Regions from separate parts of the Homo sapiens genome. Here regions 1 and 3 are each linked to region 2. Evidence: promoter capture Hi-C in 16 types of primary human blood cells and fetal thymus (Javierre and others, 2016). All regions are on one chromosome and are shown on one strand. The core of a region is centred on a gene start or on the middle of the fragment in contact, and the rest is flanking DNA. Distances in the headings are between cores, read along the strand shown.

Region 1 (4,230 bases), core at 189-2,688, 680 kb before region 2:
GCGACTCCCAATCTTAAACTAGGCGGGCAACAAAGCAAGCTAGATCGCTAACCCAGGCGCAAAGCTTGCTGGGGATTGTAGTTCTTCAGAGGCGAGGTCGGGCCGCTCCCTCGCCGCCCTGAACCGGCGGCTAGACTGCGCATGCGTGTCAGTGGCGCTAGCGGCGGACCCGGCTGGGCAGTTCCTTCCCCAGAAGGAGAGATTCCTCTGCCATGGAGTCCTACGATGTGATCGCCAACCAGCCTGTCGTGATCGACAACGTGAGTTGCGTCTTTCCTATCTATAAGGGGACTTGGGCTCTCCTCCTCGAAAGGATCGCTTCCCGGGGTTCAGCCTGAGCCGCCGGCTCTTTGTCACTGGCCCGGCCTGTCAGGCGCGTTCAGCCACCGCCGCCTCCTTCCTCCCCTTATCACATAGTCCGCAGGCAAGGCGGCCAGCCAGCAAAAGTGGGATGGAGAACTCTGGAGTGGATAAAGGAAAGAGTTATAGTCCAAGCCAGTCCTTGGGCCCTTGGCTCTAGGGGCCTTAACCGCTGTGTGAGATTCCCGTCGCCCGCCCTCTCCCCCATTTCCGATCGCTCTATTGGTTGCTCTGGCTGTCCATCTTAGCCAATGATACCGCCTCTTAGCCTTGCCGGATGAGGCTAGGCCTCTGCGGTGATTGGCTCACGCCCCTGCCATTCTTCCTTGCCGCCATATTGTTTTCCCTCTTGAAGGGGCGGGGCAGTGCTCCAGGGCTGTGGGGATTGGCTTCCGGGACTCTGGGTGGTGGGGCCTAGAGGCGAGTGCCCGCCCGCGGGTGGAGAACGGCTAAGTTTTCCTTCGGTCTCAGCCGGCGCTGCGGCTTGGTGGTGTGGATCTGGGTGGGGCCCGAGAATCTGGTGCCAGAAACCGCTGTAGGATGTCAGCTATTACTGTGATTATAAATTACAAAGTTGGTAAAGGTCGAGAAGAAAGGAGAGTGACAAAGGAAGCAGAGAGGTTGTCCTCCTCTTTGGAACGCCTAGTTCTTACGGGGAAAAAATTACCAAACTTAATATTTGCCTGGCGCTCTAGCGCTTCCAGGGCGTTTTCACATACATTCGAGTTGGATCCTCACAAAAACTGGACGCATAGTTTAAAAGGAACTTTGATCTTCGTGTTACCGATGAGAAAACTGAAGCGCGAAGACGTAACGTGAGCCCAAGGTCACATAGCAGAGGTGCCCTAAATCCAGTACTTTATCCGTCATCCCTTTTGCCAGCACCACCATGCAGAAGCATCAATATTGACCAATAGAAAGAATCTAAATACTGCTCTTATTTTGGGGGGAAAGGAGAAAATTGTAAAACGACTGCATTTCTGCCTTCGATTCAAAGCTTTGGTCCCACAGAGATTGATCCCTGTCTGTGTCCCTTGTAGGTCCCTCCATTGAGGCAAAACTACCAGTTCCCTCTGTTGTAAGCTGACTCTGTCAGATTCCCTTTGTTGATTCAGCTCTTGGGACCTTAGGCATATTACAATGTTCTCGTTTAAGCTTCAGCTCTGTTAGGTAGATAGGAATTACTATCCCCAGTGTATGCAGGGATGTTAAATAACAGATTTCAAACCATCCAGTTTAGGAATTGAGGAGCCAGTCATCAGACTAAGATCCAGTTCCAAGTTGCTTGCTTTTTCCAATATATTTTTGTTGTTGTTTTCATTAAATTTTCCTTCTCTCCATGGGTATTTTGTTTTTATTATTCCCCCTTAGAAAGGGGCAGGATTGAGCTCAATGAGACAGCTCATTTTTTTTTTCTTTTTTTTTTTTGGAGACAGGGTCTCGCTCTGTTGCTGAGTCTGAAATGCAGTGGCGCGATCACAGCTCACTGCAGCCTCAACCTCCTGGGCTCAAGTGATCCTCCCGCTTAAGCCTCCCGAGTAGCTGGGGCTGCAGGCACGCGCCACCACCCCTGGCTAATTTTTGTATTTTTTGTAGGAAGGGTTTCACCATGTTGTCCAGGCTGGTCTCAAACTCCTGGGCTGTTGCGATTCTCCTACCTTGGCCTCCCAAAGTGCTGGGATTATAGGCCTGAGCCACCGTGCCTGGCAGAGACGCCTCTTTTTTTGGTGTGGGGGGGTGGAGGGAACAGGATCTCGCTTTGTCACCCAGGCTGGAGTGCAATTGTGCGATCTCAGCTCACTGCAGCCTCCGCCTCCAGGTTCAAGAGATTCTCCAGCCTAGACTCCCAAGTAGCTGGGATTACAGATGTGCACCACCACGCCTGGCTAATTTTTGTTTGTTTGTTTGTTTGTTTGTTTGTTTGTTTGTTTTTGAGACGGAGTCTCACTGTCGCCCAGGCTGGAGTGCAGTGGCGCGATCTCGGCTCACTGCAAGCTCCGCCTCCCGGGTTCACGCCATTCTCCTGCCTCAGCCTCCCGAGTAGCTGGGACTACAGGCGCCCGTCACCTCGCCCGGCTAATTTTTTGTATTTTTAGTAGAGATGGGGTTTCACCGTGTTAGCCAGGATGGTCTCGATCTCCTGACCTCGTGATCCGCCCACCTCGGCCTCCCAAAGTGCTGGTATTACAGGCGTCAGCCACCGCGCCCGGCCTAATTTTTGTATTTTTAGTAGAGATGGGGTTTCACCATATTGGCCAGACTTGTCCTGAACTCCTGACCTCAAATGATCCACCCGCCTTGGCCTCCCAAAGTGCTGGGATTACAAGCATGAGCCACCACACCCAGCCCAGATACTTCATTTTTGAGAGGATCTTTTTGTCTCCCTCACTAGACTATTAAATCCTTGTGGAAAAAGATGATATTCTCCCACAGGTTTAGTGGTGTTGGGAAAAAAAATTTAAGAAAGATGATATTCCTTTAGTCTCACTTCACCCACTTCTCTCCACACACACACAGTATACCTAGGGTCTGGCACCTCTGTGTGCTCAATAAATGTTTTTTCATTGGATTGATGGGTGATTGGATGAATGACTGAATATCTCTATCAAAGTAACAAAGATATTCCTAAATAAAGAAAAGATGGGGAGTTTTCTCTAGTTAGTTACTGCAGATAATTGAGTAGGACTTTTTGTTCTTGATGTTGATTTTCAGAGAGCACTACGATTTCTGTCTTTAGCCAGGCTCTTTGTGCTTCTTCTGCCTTTTTCTTAGTTGTAAAAAGGAAAAATATATAGAAATTCAATTTCCTGTTTTCATCAGCAATGCAGAAGGAACAACCTGTCTATCCCACCAGCTCCTTTGCTTCTTGAATTGCTAGGCAGGAGTTCCATCTCCGGCCATTTTCTTTAATATCACTTACACTAATGCGTCTTAATTTTTTTCTTTCTCTTTCCTGGTAGTATGTTTCGAAATGCATTACAGCAGTGATGCATTTTTAGTTTCAAGATTTAAAGAATTGACTTGTCTTTTTTTTCCCCCTCTGGGAAAACATGTCCTTTATTATGCCAGTATTTCTGCCAAAAGGTGAAGTAGGAGAAACTTAAGTCATTTTCCTATTAGTATTTGCTGAAAATCTGCCACATTTTTACATGTGCGGTCTCAGGTAGTCCTTGTTGTTTAACATTTGGGGGGTCATTTTGTTTTTATTATTTTCAAGATGGTAGATGTATAGGAAACATTATTTGAAATACCTGAGACAACTTATTACATATAATGAGAATAATGTATCACTAGCTATGTTAACTCCATAGCTTAACATGTTGCTACACTTTATTTATGGGCAGAAGAGTATAATCAAAAGAATGCAGGAGAAAGAAAGCAGGGAAAGAGCCCCATTAAGTTCACAGCCTTTCCCAATCATAAGACAATTGTGACCACGTCTTTCATCTTACTCTGGCATCAAGTCATTTCATCAGAATTTAATGAGGAAAATGGAGGGGCAGGTAGGTGTGTGCTTTAATGACAACAATAAAGTGATAGGTATTTTTTTAATCACCCAAGAAGCTTTATGATGATAGATATTTTTTAAAACCAAATATAAGTCATTTCTTCCCAAAGACATAGAGAATAGTGTAAGATAGGAGCAGCTCCTAGGCCACATTTTGAGGACTACACTTTGATCAGAATACTATGTTTATTCTGAAACTCAAATTTTTCCTAAGATCCAGGCCAAATGTGGTGGCTTACTCCTGTAATTCCAGCATTTTGGAAAGCCAAGGCTGGAAGATCGTTTGAGCCCAGGAATTGGAGACCAGCCTGGGCAACATAGTGAGACTTCATCTCTACTTTAAAAAAAAAAAAAAATTAGCC
Region 2 (4,096 bases), core at 1,198-3,697:
AGTTGCCCTAAATAGACACTCTGATTAGCAGCAGTTACAAGTGGATTTTTATAGGGAAAGAAGAGGCAGTTCCTGAGTTATTTACCAACAGTTTACATTAAAATAACATAAGCTATTGATTGGCTATACATTGTTAAACTATAGGGTGTGTGTTAGAATGTCCAGTACAACATTATTAGGTTAATTTATAGCTACTTGTGGCAAGAGCAAGCAGTGTCAAGAGATGAATACATAGCTCAAAGGAGGGAGGCATAGGATGTGATTCTGTCATTTTCTTTTCTTTTTTTTTTTTTTTGAGACTGAGTCTCACTCTGTTGCCCTGGCTGGAGGGCAGTGGCACGATCTTGGCTCACTGCAACCTCTGCCTCCCAGGTTCAAGTGATTCTCCTGCCTCAGCCTCCCAAATAGCTGGGATTACAGGCGCGCACCACCATGCCCAGCTATTGTTTGTAGTTTTAGTAGAGACGGAGTTTCAACATGATGGCCAGGCTATTCTTGAACTCCTGACTTTCTGCCCGCCTTGGCCTCTCAAAGTGCTGGGATTACAGGCGTGAGCCACTGAGCCCGGCTGATTCTGTCATTTTAATGCCTCGCTGGGCCTATTTATTTATTTTTAATTTTTAAAGATTTATTTATTTTTTAATTTTTTTTTTTTTAGAGGCAGGGTCTTGTTCTGTGGCTCAGGCTGGAGTGCAGTGGTGAGATCCTAGCACTACAGGTGCACACCACTACGCCTGGCTTTTTTTTTTTTTTTTTTTTTTTGTTTTTTTTTTGAGATGGAGTTTAGCTTTTGTTGCCCAGGTTGGAGTGCAATGGCACGATCTCGGCTCACGCAACCCGGGTTCAAGTGATTCTCCTGCCTCAGCCTCCCGAGTAGCTGGGATTACAGGCATCTGCCACCATGCCCAGCTAATTTTGTATTTTTAGTAGAAACGGGGTTTCTCCATGTTGGTCAGGCTGGTCTCGAACTCCCGACCTCAGGTGATCCATCTGCCTCGGCCTCCCAAAGTGCTGGGATTACAGGTGTGAGCCACCACGCCCGGCCTATTTTTATTTTTTTATAAAGACTGGGTCTGGCAATATTGCCCAGGCTGGTTGCAAACACCAACACTGCGCCCAGCCATCTGGGCCTGATAATTTAAAAGGACTCTCATTCCTCAGATAAAAGTTCTTTTCGGCCAGGTGAGGTGGCACGTGTCTGTAATCCCAGCACTTTGGGAGGCTGAGACTGGAGGATCACCTGAGCCCAAGAGTTTGAGACCAGCTTGGGCAAGATGTTGAGACCCCCGTCTCTACCAAAAATGAACAAATTAAAAGAGTGTGGTGGCGGGCACTCGCCTATAGTCCCAGCTACTCGGGATGGCTAAGGCGGGAAGATCCCTTGAGAGCCCAGGAATTCGATACTTAAGCTATGATTGCACTAGCCTGCGTGGCAAAATGAGACCTCTTCTCTTACAAAAAAAAAAAAAAAAAAAAAATTGTGTTCTCAACCCCAACGGACCACAATATCCAGTAAAGCTGCTATGGCCCCTAACTCTCAGCACAGGAGGTCCCTTAAGAAAATGCTTGTCCGGCCGGGCGCGGTGGCTCACACCTGTAATCCCAGCACTTTGGGAGGCCGAGGCAGGTGGATCACCTGAGGTCAGGAGTTCAAGACTAGCCTAGTCAACGTGGCGAAACCCCGTCTCTATTAAAAACACAAAATTAGCCGGGTGTGGTGGCGGGTGCCTGTAGTCTCAGCTACTCGAGAGGTTGAGGCAGGAGAATAGCCTGAGCCCAGGAGGTGAAGGCTGCAGTGAGCCGAGATTGCGCCACTGCGCTCCTGCGCTCCAGCCTGGGCGACAGAGTGAAACTCTGTCTCAAAAAAAAAAAAAAAGTTTGCTCCTAACCCCCATCTCAACAATCCAGGACTGAAAAGAAGAGGGACCATGAAAGTCCCTGAAACTACAAGTTGGGCTACGGCTAAAGAAGGTAAATATCAGACTGAAGTGTAAGATGGACATTACTAAGTCTTAATCATCATTTCATGTTTATACCTCACAGGTTGAGATAGATTTCTCAAGCATCATAAATGTAAAGTGCATTAGGGTAGGTCTACAAGAGAGCTCTGAGAACATACAGCAAGGAGACCCAAACCCATCTAGGGCTCAGGGAAGGCTTCCCAAGGAAGCGATGCCCATGCCGAGGCCGAAGGGATCTCATGCCCCACTGCACACACCGCGCGCTCCCCATTCCCAAACAAGGCAGGCTTTTCATGCCTCCCTACCTTTGGACTCTGTTGTTCGTTCCACTTTCCTGGAGTGCTGTCTTCCCTCCCCTTCTGCTCAGTCAGGCTAACTTCACATCCTTTATAATCCAGCTGAAAAGTGAAGCCATGCCCACGGCCTCTCCCCAAAGGAGGAGTGAGTATCACCTGTTCTGAGCTCCGAAGTTCTTGGGGACACCTTGTGGGAACTGCGTGTGTGGTGGCTTGTCTCCACCACCGTACTGTGAGCTCATAGTGTTCTAGAGCCCAGCACGAGGCAAGCTCTATAGATGTCTACTGAATGAAGGAATGAACGAATGATTACATTTTAAATGGGATTAGGGGAAAATGATTCAAGGCAGAGGGGTGAGCTGAGCTCCTTGGAATGGTGTCTTTACCGAACCAAGCCTGGGTTAGGCAGATGTAATGAGCCCACCTATTACAAGAATCTCCATAGAAAGTAGGTCAGTTCTTTCCTATCTCTTTAAGAACGAGAGGCCGCGGCTCCGCGCCTGCGCACTGAGAGAATAAACACCTCTCCTTTTCACCTTCCCCCCTTCTCCCTATTGCCCCAACCGGCGGCAGCCTCCTCCCATACTCCCCTCCTTCGGGGCGGGTAATGGTCCGTCCGTCCCAGGGTGCCAGGCTTGTTTCGGAGGGTGGCAAGCAGAAATGGTACATTCCACTGCCTTCATTACCTTCTGCTTTTCGCGTCTCCTGTTCTATTTCCCCCTACCTAAAGAAGCTTAATAGGCTAGCCCCAAAGAAGGCGGGGGAGCCGGGCGGAGGGGACCGGTCTGAGCCGGTCTGCAGCGCAAGCGCAGTGCGGATAAACAGGAAGCGGGCGGTGGAGGCAGCAGCAGAGGGAGAGCTCGGGGCTTGGAGGGGAAACAGCGGAAGACCTAAGATTATCGGGAGGGCAGCAGAGGCAGAGAACGAGGACAGGACCCTTGGCCGTCTTCTTCCAGGGAACGAGAGGTCACAGCCTCGCTCTCCGCTTAGGCTTCTGGCGCCCCAGCTTAAAGCCGAGGCTGCGGCTGACAAAGGGCTCGCGCCGGTGCCGCCGCCCTTCTCATCCGGGCATTCGGGTCCCTGCGGAGAGGGAGGGGGAAGGGCAGAGGGGGAGGGGAAGGAGCCGGAGGGGCGCACACTTGGAGCTGAAGCCCTCTCCAGGGCTCCGGGCCGGTGCCCCAACGGACAGAGGTCGAGGAGGACCCGCAGAGGTGGCAGCGGCCGGGGGCAGGAGGATGGTGCAGAAGGAGAGTCAAGCGACGTTGGAGGAGCGGGAGAGCGAGCTCAGCTCCAACCCTGCCGCCTCTGCGGGGGCATCGCTGGAGCCGCCGGCAGCTCCGGCACCCGGAGAAGACAACCCCGCCGGGGCTGGGGGAGCGGCGGTGGCCGGGGCTGCAGGAGGGGCTCGGCGGTTCCTCTGCGGTGTGGTGGAAGGTGAGCGCCCTCCTTCCCTCCCCGTTTTGGCACTAACACGTTCTGTCCTCGGGAGGAGGGTGGTGGCGGGGATTTTGGAGACTCTAAAAGGCCGGAAAGCCTCTGGGTCTGAAATGTGGCCCTCCTAAAGCGAGGGGAGAGACGAGATGTTGGGCGAATCTCCTTGCACGTCTTAAGACGGCGTCGAATTCCCCCCTGGCCACTCACAAGTCTGACCCCACCCGTCTTGGGCTTGGAGCCAGGCCACCTCCTAAGGAGGCGGTGGTTAAGAGCCTGGTGTTCTGTTAGCCTCTGAGTTCTACTTCTTTGTACCTTGGGATCTTATTCCCTAGGGTTGTCTGGTTCCAGTGAAAAAATATGTGTAGTGCTTCTGTCACCACCCTTTGTGGAAAATCGGCCCACACT
Region 3 (4,190 bases), core at 1,691-4,190, 820 kb after region 2:
GGTGGCTTGAGGGCCCATTGGTGGGGGGAGCCTGTTTCCTTCTCTCTTCGGCGTGTGGGGAGAGGTGGGACATTATCTAACTCCTTTGCCTGATCTGTTCCCCTTCTTTCTCGCATGCCCTCCATTAAATCCACCGCCCTCCTTCCCACCCAAGTCAAAAGACACTGCGAACCAGGAAGAGGTGTCCACGCTGGGGCAGGAGCTGCGGGGAGCTGGGGGAGGGGTAGGCCAGGAGCAGGGAGTGACCACAGGCCCCTCTGTAGGGCTGGGGCTCAGACCACCCCACACACCCCAGCCCCCAGCAGAGCAGATAGAGAACCCCCTCCCCTCCCCTCTCTGGGCCCACTCCAGGGTGTGGAGTGAACAGTGGGGAAGGGACTTCTTAGGGGGCCAAGGGGGCTGGCACCTCTGTTGCATTTCCCCACTTCAGCGAGCACGGAGAAAGTGAAAATTGAAGGAAGGAGACAGGCTCAGAGAAAGACAGGGACCCAAAAGAGACAAAGACTCGGAGAGGCCCGAGGGTCAGGCCGACAAGGGGACAGCCAGCGGGACCCAGTGAGCCAGGGCCCCCCAACCCCACGGAGCCGAGGGCCCATAAGTCCAAAGTGCCACAGAGCCGGGCCCTGAGAGCCACACATCCAGGGAGCCAGAGCCAGGAGTCTGGAAAGCCAGGCCCAGCCAGGCCGGCTCCCGCTCTTGGAGCCCGAAAGAGAAGGAGGGGCAAGTGGAGGCTCCATTTTGAGAAATGCGTTTGTGGCTGTGGGAGATGGGAACCCCTCATTCTCCCCAGCACTCCCTGAGCAATCACTCTGGCCCAGGAGCACCCCCCTTTTAGTGGGCTGAGGAGAGCAGAGGGCTGGAGCTGGTTCAGGGCCGGAGACGGATCTGAAGAGTTGGGGAAAGTCTCCCTCCCACCCAAACTCCAAGGACCAGTCAAGCGGGGTCAAGTCTGCGATCACGAGTTCCCATTCTGCGGCGGGAAGCCAGGAGCCCCTGACCCATTCTCCAGAGTCCAGCCCCCCTTCCAGAAAGTGGGGGCGACTGGGGAACGCCGTCCCCCCGGCTGGATTCCACCGCGCATAAGTTGGGGGCTCCCCAGGCCGCCTCCCAGACCCGGCCCCCCTCACCTCCGCCGCGCTGCTCCATGCTCAGCCCCAGGCCGCCCCCAGCGCTCCACAGGCGCGCCGCCCGGCCCCGGCTCCGGCTCCGGCCCCGGCCCCGGCCCCGGCCCTGGCCCGCGCGCCGCCACTCGGAGCTGCCCGGCCCAGCCCCGCCTCCGCCTCCGCGGCGCCCCCGGCCCTGGCCAGCCCCCGCCCGGTGCGAGTGGGCGGCACCGCGCAGGGGAGGGTCCGAGGGGCGTCTCCGCCCCGGGGCGCGGACACGCGCAAGCACCCGCGTCACGCGAATCCGCCGGGGCGCACGTAGGGGCTGCTCGGCGGCAGTCGGGAGCCCTCCCTCCGACGCCCTGTGACTGCGTGTCTGGGGGCTCGGTTCGGCTCGACGCGGCGGCGGCGGTGGTCACCCTCAACCCCAGCCGGGGCCCCGGGGCCAGCGGCAGCTGGTCATTGTTCCAGCACAAAGGGCCACGGCGCGGCGGCGGCCGCCCCTCCCCCTCCGCTTCTCCAGGCGAAGCTTCCCTGACACGCTCTCAGCCTCAGAGTCCCAAGCGAGAGGCCGATGGCCGGCCGTCCCCCACTCTCCGGTGCCGGGACCCCGCGCCCTAGCCCGAGTAGGAGGCCGAGGCTCGATCCGCGCCTGCCCCACGGCGGGTTGGAGGCGGCAACCTGGGCTTCGCGGAGGCGACGCCACCTGGCGGCCGGCTCGGAGAACACACCCAGCCGCCCCCAACACGCGGGCCCTGCCCCACTCCCCGGCACGGTGCCCTTTTCCCCGCGAACCCAGGCCGGCCTCTGGCGCGACCGCGTGCTCCCCAGCCTCCCCTCGGGATCACTTGCTAAGAGAGAGGTCATTTATCGGAGAGGAGCGGCCCCTGGCTCCCCAACAATCACTGGGGCGAACCGGTGCAAGCCTACAGCCCAAACCTACACCAGCCTCACGGCAGACAATATTCCACTTCCTCAGGGTCAAGTAGTCTCACCTTCTCGCACACAATACAGTCTCCCTAACACCCACAAGACCTTTCCCACATGCAGCCGCAGTCTCAGCCGTCACGTGGGTCCGCGTTCCTTCTTTCCATAATCTTCCAGTCCACCTCACACACAGACACGGTGTCACAGGCCTGTTGGGCACAGGCTTCCACAACAATCCGCAGTCCTTCGCACCCAGTCACAGTCTCAAGTGCACTTAGTCTCCTAACCATCTTTCACGCATTGACAGCCTCTATTCACAGTCACTCACACAGACAACTTCTTACACGCCGTGCTTCACAAATATTCTACCGCACAGCCTTTCCCCTAGGGGTCTCGGTGACCCGGTCAGGTCAGCTGATGCCTGCATCCCTGGGCAAAGGCAGCCTTTCTCCCCTAACCACCCCCTCCCCCGCAGGGCCAAGGCCTGCCGGAGCTCGCCCGGGCCCCAGGAAGGAGCATCCCCCCCTTCCAGGCCACAGCCCTGGCCGGCTCTCAGCTCTATTTTTAGCTCCATGGACAGGGTTGTTTTTCTTTCTTTTTCCCTGGAAAGGGAAACACAGCCCAGCCACCCTGACTCACCCCAGACCCTCAGCCTCACAAGAACAGACTGAGCCCCTCTCCCCAGCAGAGCCCCCTCCTCTGGCCTTGCCCTGATCCCTGCCTCCTGGGGCACCGAGAGCCTCCTCCTCTTTCTGGCAGCCTGCCCAGCTCAGGCGGCAGCTGGGCTCAGCGTGTGTGTAGGGGTAGGGGGTGGGGCGAGGAGGAGGCATCGGGCTACTGCCCACTCCCTCATTCCCTGGGGGGAGGGGCTCGTCCTCCTTTTTCTAGGGGGGCAGGCCCACTCTGGTATTGAGGGAGCGTTTACACTCATGCATTTTCTGGGGGGAGGAGACTCCGACTCCCGCAAGGAGTGGAGGTGAGGGTAGGAAGGGGACCCGCAGGCGCTCAGGCAGCTGCTCTCTGGGCTGGCGGTAACAGGCGGGGGCAGCTGTCCACTGCCATCAAGGGCCTGTCTCCGAAACCTTCAGGGATGCAGACACCAAGAATGTGCTGGGGAGAAGGACGTCCAGGAGCCCGAGTTAACCCCAGCCCTGCCCAGCAGCCGGGCCCTCCTGCTCCGCCCCGGCTCCAGGGGGCGCTGTGCTCCGGTTCCCGGGAGAGGGCTTATCCCCGCTCCAGGCGGAGAATGGAACGCCGTCCGGCCTGGGACCAAGCAAACGCGCCCCGGACTAGGGTGGATTTCCGCCCCGTGGTTGGGTTGGGGGCACAGGCCACTGGTCTGCGGAGCTGTCACGTGCTCGGCGTCTGTTTACGTCTTGGTCTTCACCTGCGGGAGGCCAGGAAGCAGGAACCTCCGGGTGCGTCCCACCCGGCCCGCCCCCGTCGGTAGTCACAGGGCTGCCCCTTTCCCGCACCCAATACGCGACCGCAGAGTGCCCTGCCCGCTGTGGGTCCGCGCGGGCCGGCTGGCGCTGTCCCTGGGAGTGCAAGGGTGGCCAACTGGGCGCGTCCTTTCCGAGTGCATGTGTGTTCGCGTGTCCCAAGTGCGGGCGTGGGTCTGTGCACGCGTGTGTGGGGCCCGTCGGCGTGCGTTTTCGTGTCACTTCCCTGTTCGGACTCTTCGCGGGGACCCCACCAAGTGCGGACCCCCCTCCTCACCCCAACCCCTAGCTTCCCTAGAAGCGGAAAGTTCGTTCAGGAGCGGGGATGAGCGGGAGGCGGGAGTTCCTGCACCTCCGCCGCCCCACCACTCACCCAGCGCCACCTGCGCCTCGGCTCCAGTTCCGGCCCCGCTCCTGCTCCAGCGCGCCCACCTCCTCGCCGCGACAACGCCGGCTCCCTAGCCGGCTCCGAACTCTAGGTTCCGAACTCTGGGCTCCCGGCTCCCAGCTCCCGGCGCCCGCCTGGCCCGACCTGGTGGAGCGGGGCGGGGCGGGGCGGCTCAGGCCGCGCCCCCCACCCAGGGAGGGGAGTGGTCTGCCCCGCACTCCACCAGCAGCCGACCCAGTGCCCAGCCTAAGAGTGACTCGACGGTGGCCGAGGCTGCCCCTCTGGCCTCTGACTTCACAGCTTACTGGATTTGGTTTTTGACCTGGGGAA

Evidence for each region. The method cuts DNA at HindIII sites, captures the fragments that hold promoters and counts their contacts. A CHiCAGO score of 5 or more calls a contact.
Region 1: a fragment that was not itself captured here is called in contact with the fragment with the promoter of KCNIP2-AS1 in region 2 in 5 of 17 cell types (fetal thymus, naive CD4 T cells, total B cells and 2 more); the score reaches 7.1 in fetal thymus.
Region 3: a fragment that was not itself captured here is called in contact with the fragment with the promoter of KCNIP2-AS1 in region 2 in 4 of 17 cell types (erythroblasts, naive CD4 T cells, megakaryocytes and 1 more); the score reaches 7.0 in erythroblasts.

The regions. Positions count from the first base shown.
Region 1 is chr10:102,498,630-102,502,859 of GRCh38, reverse strand. ACTR1A (actin related protein 1A) reads left to right here and starts at 148. Exons shown (of 11, transcript NM_005736.4): 1 at 148-260. The coding sequence starts at 213. It also overlaps a transcript of SUFU not described here. RefSeq lists enhancers at 170-269, 1,664-2,164. The HindIII fragment of the contact is 158 bases long and covers 1,360-1,517 here.
Region 2 is chr10:101,817,419-101,821,514 of GRCh38, reverse strand. KCNIP2-AS1 (KCNIP2 antisense RNA 1) reads right to left here and starts at 2,447. Exons shown (of 3, transcript NR_045118.1): 1 at 2,267-2,447. It overlaps OGA (O-GlcNAcase), which reads left to right and starts at 3,071. Exons shown (of 16, transcript NM_012215.5): 1 at 3,071-3,691. The coding sequence starts at 3,493. RefSeq lists enhancers at 3,042-3,161, 2,963-3,538 and silencers at 3,312-3,371, 3,452-3,511. The HindIII fragment of the contact is 3,022 bases long and covers 1-2,992 here.
Region 3 is chr10:100,996,890-101,001,079 of GRCh38, reverse strand. LZTS2 (leucine zipper tumor suppressor 2) reads right to left here and starts at 1,272. Exons shown (of 5, transcript NM_001318100.2): 1 at 1,128-1,272. RefSeq lists silencers at 1,131-1,510, 1,611-2,020, 3,811-4,100 and an enhancer at 4,184-4,190. The HindIII fragment of the contact is 2,612 bases long and covers 1,635-4,190 here.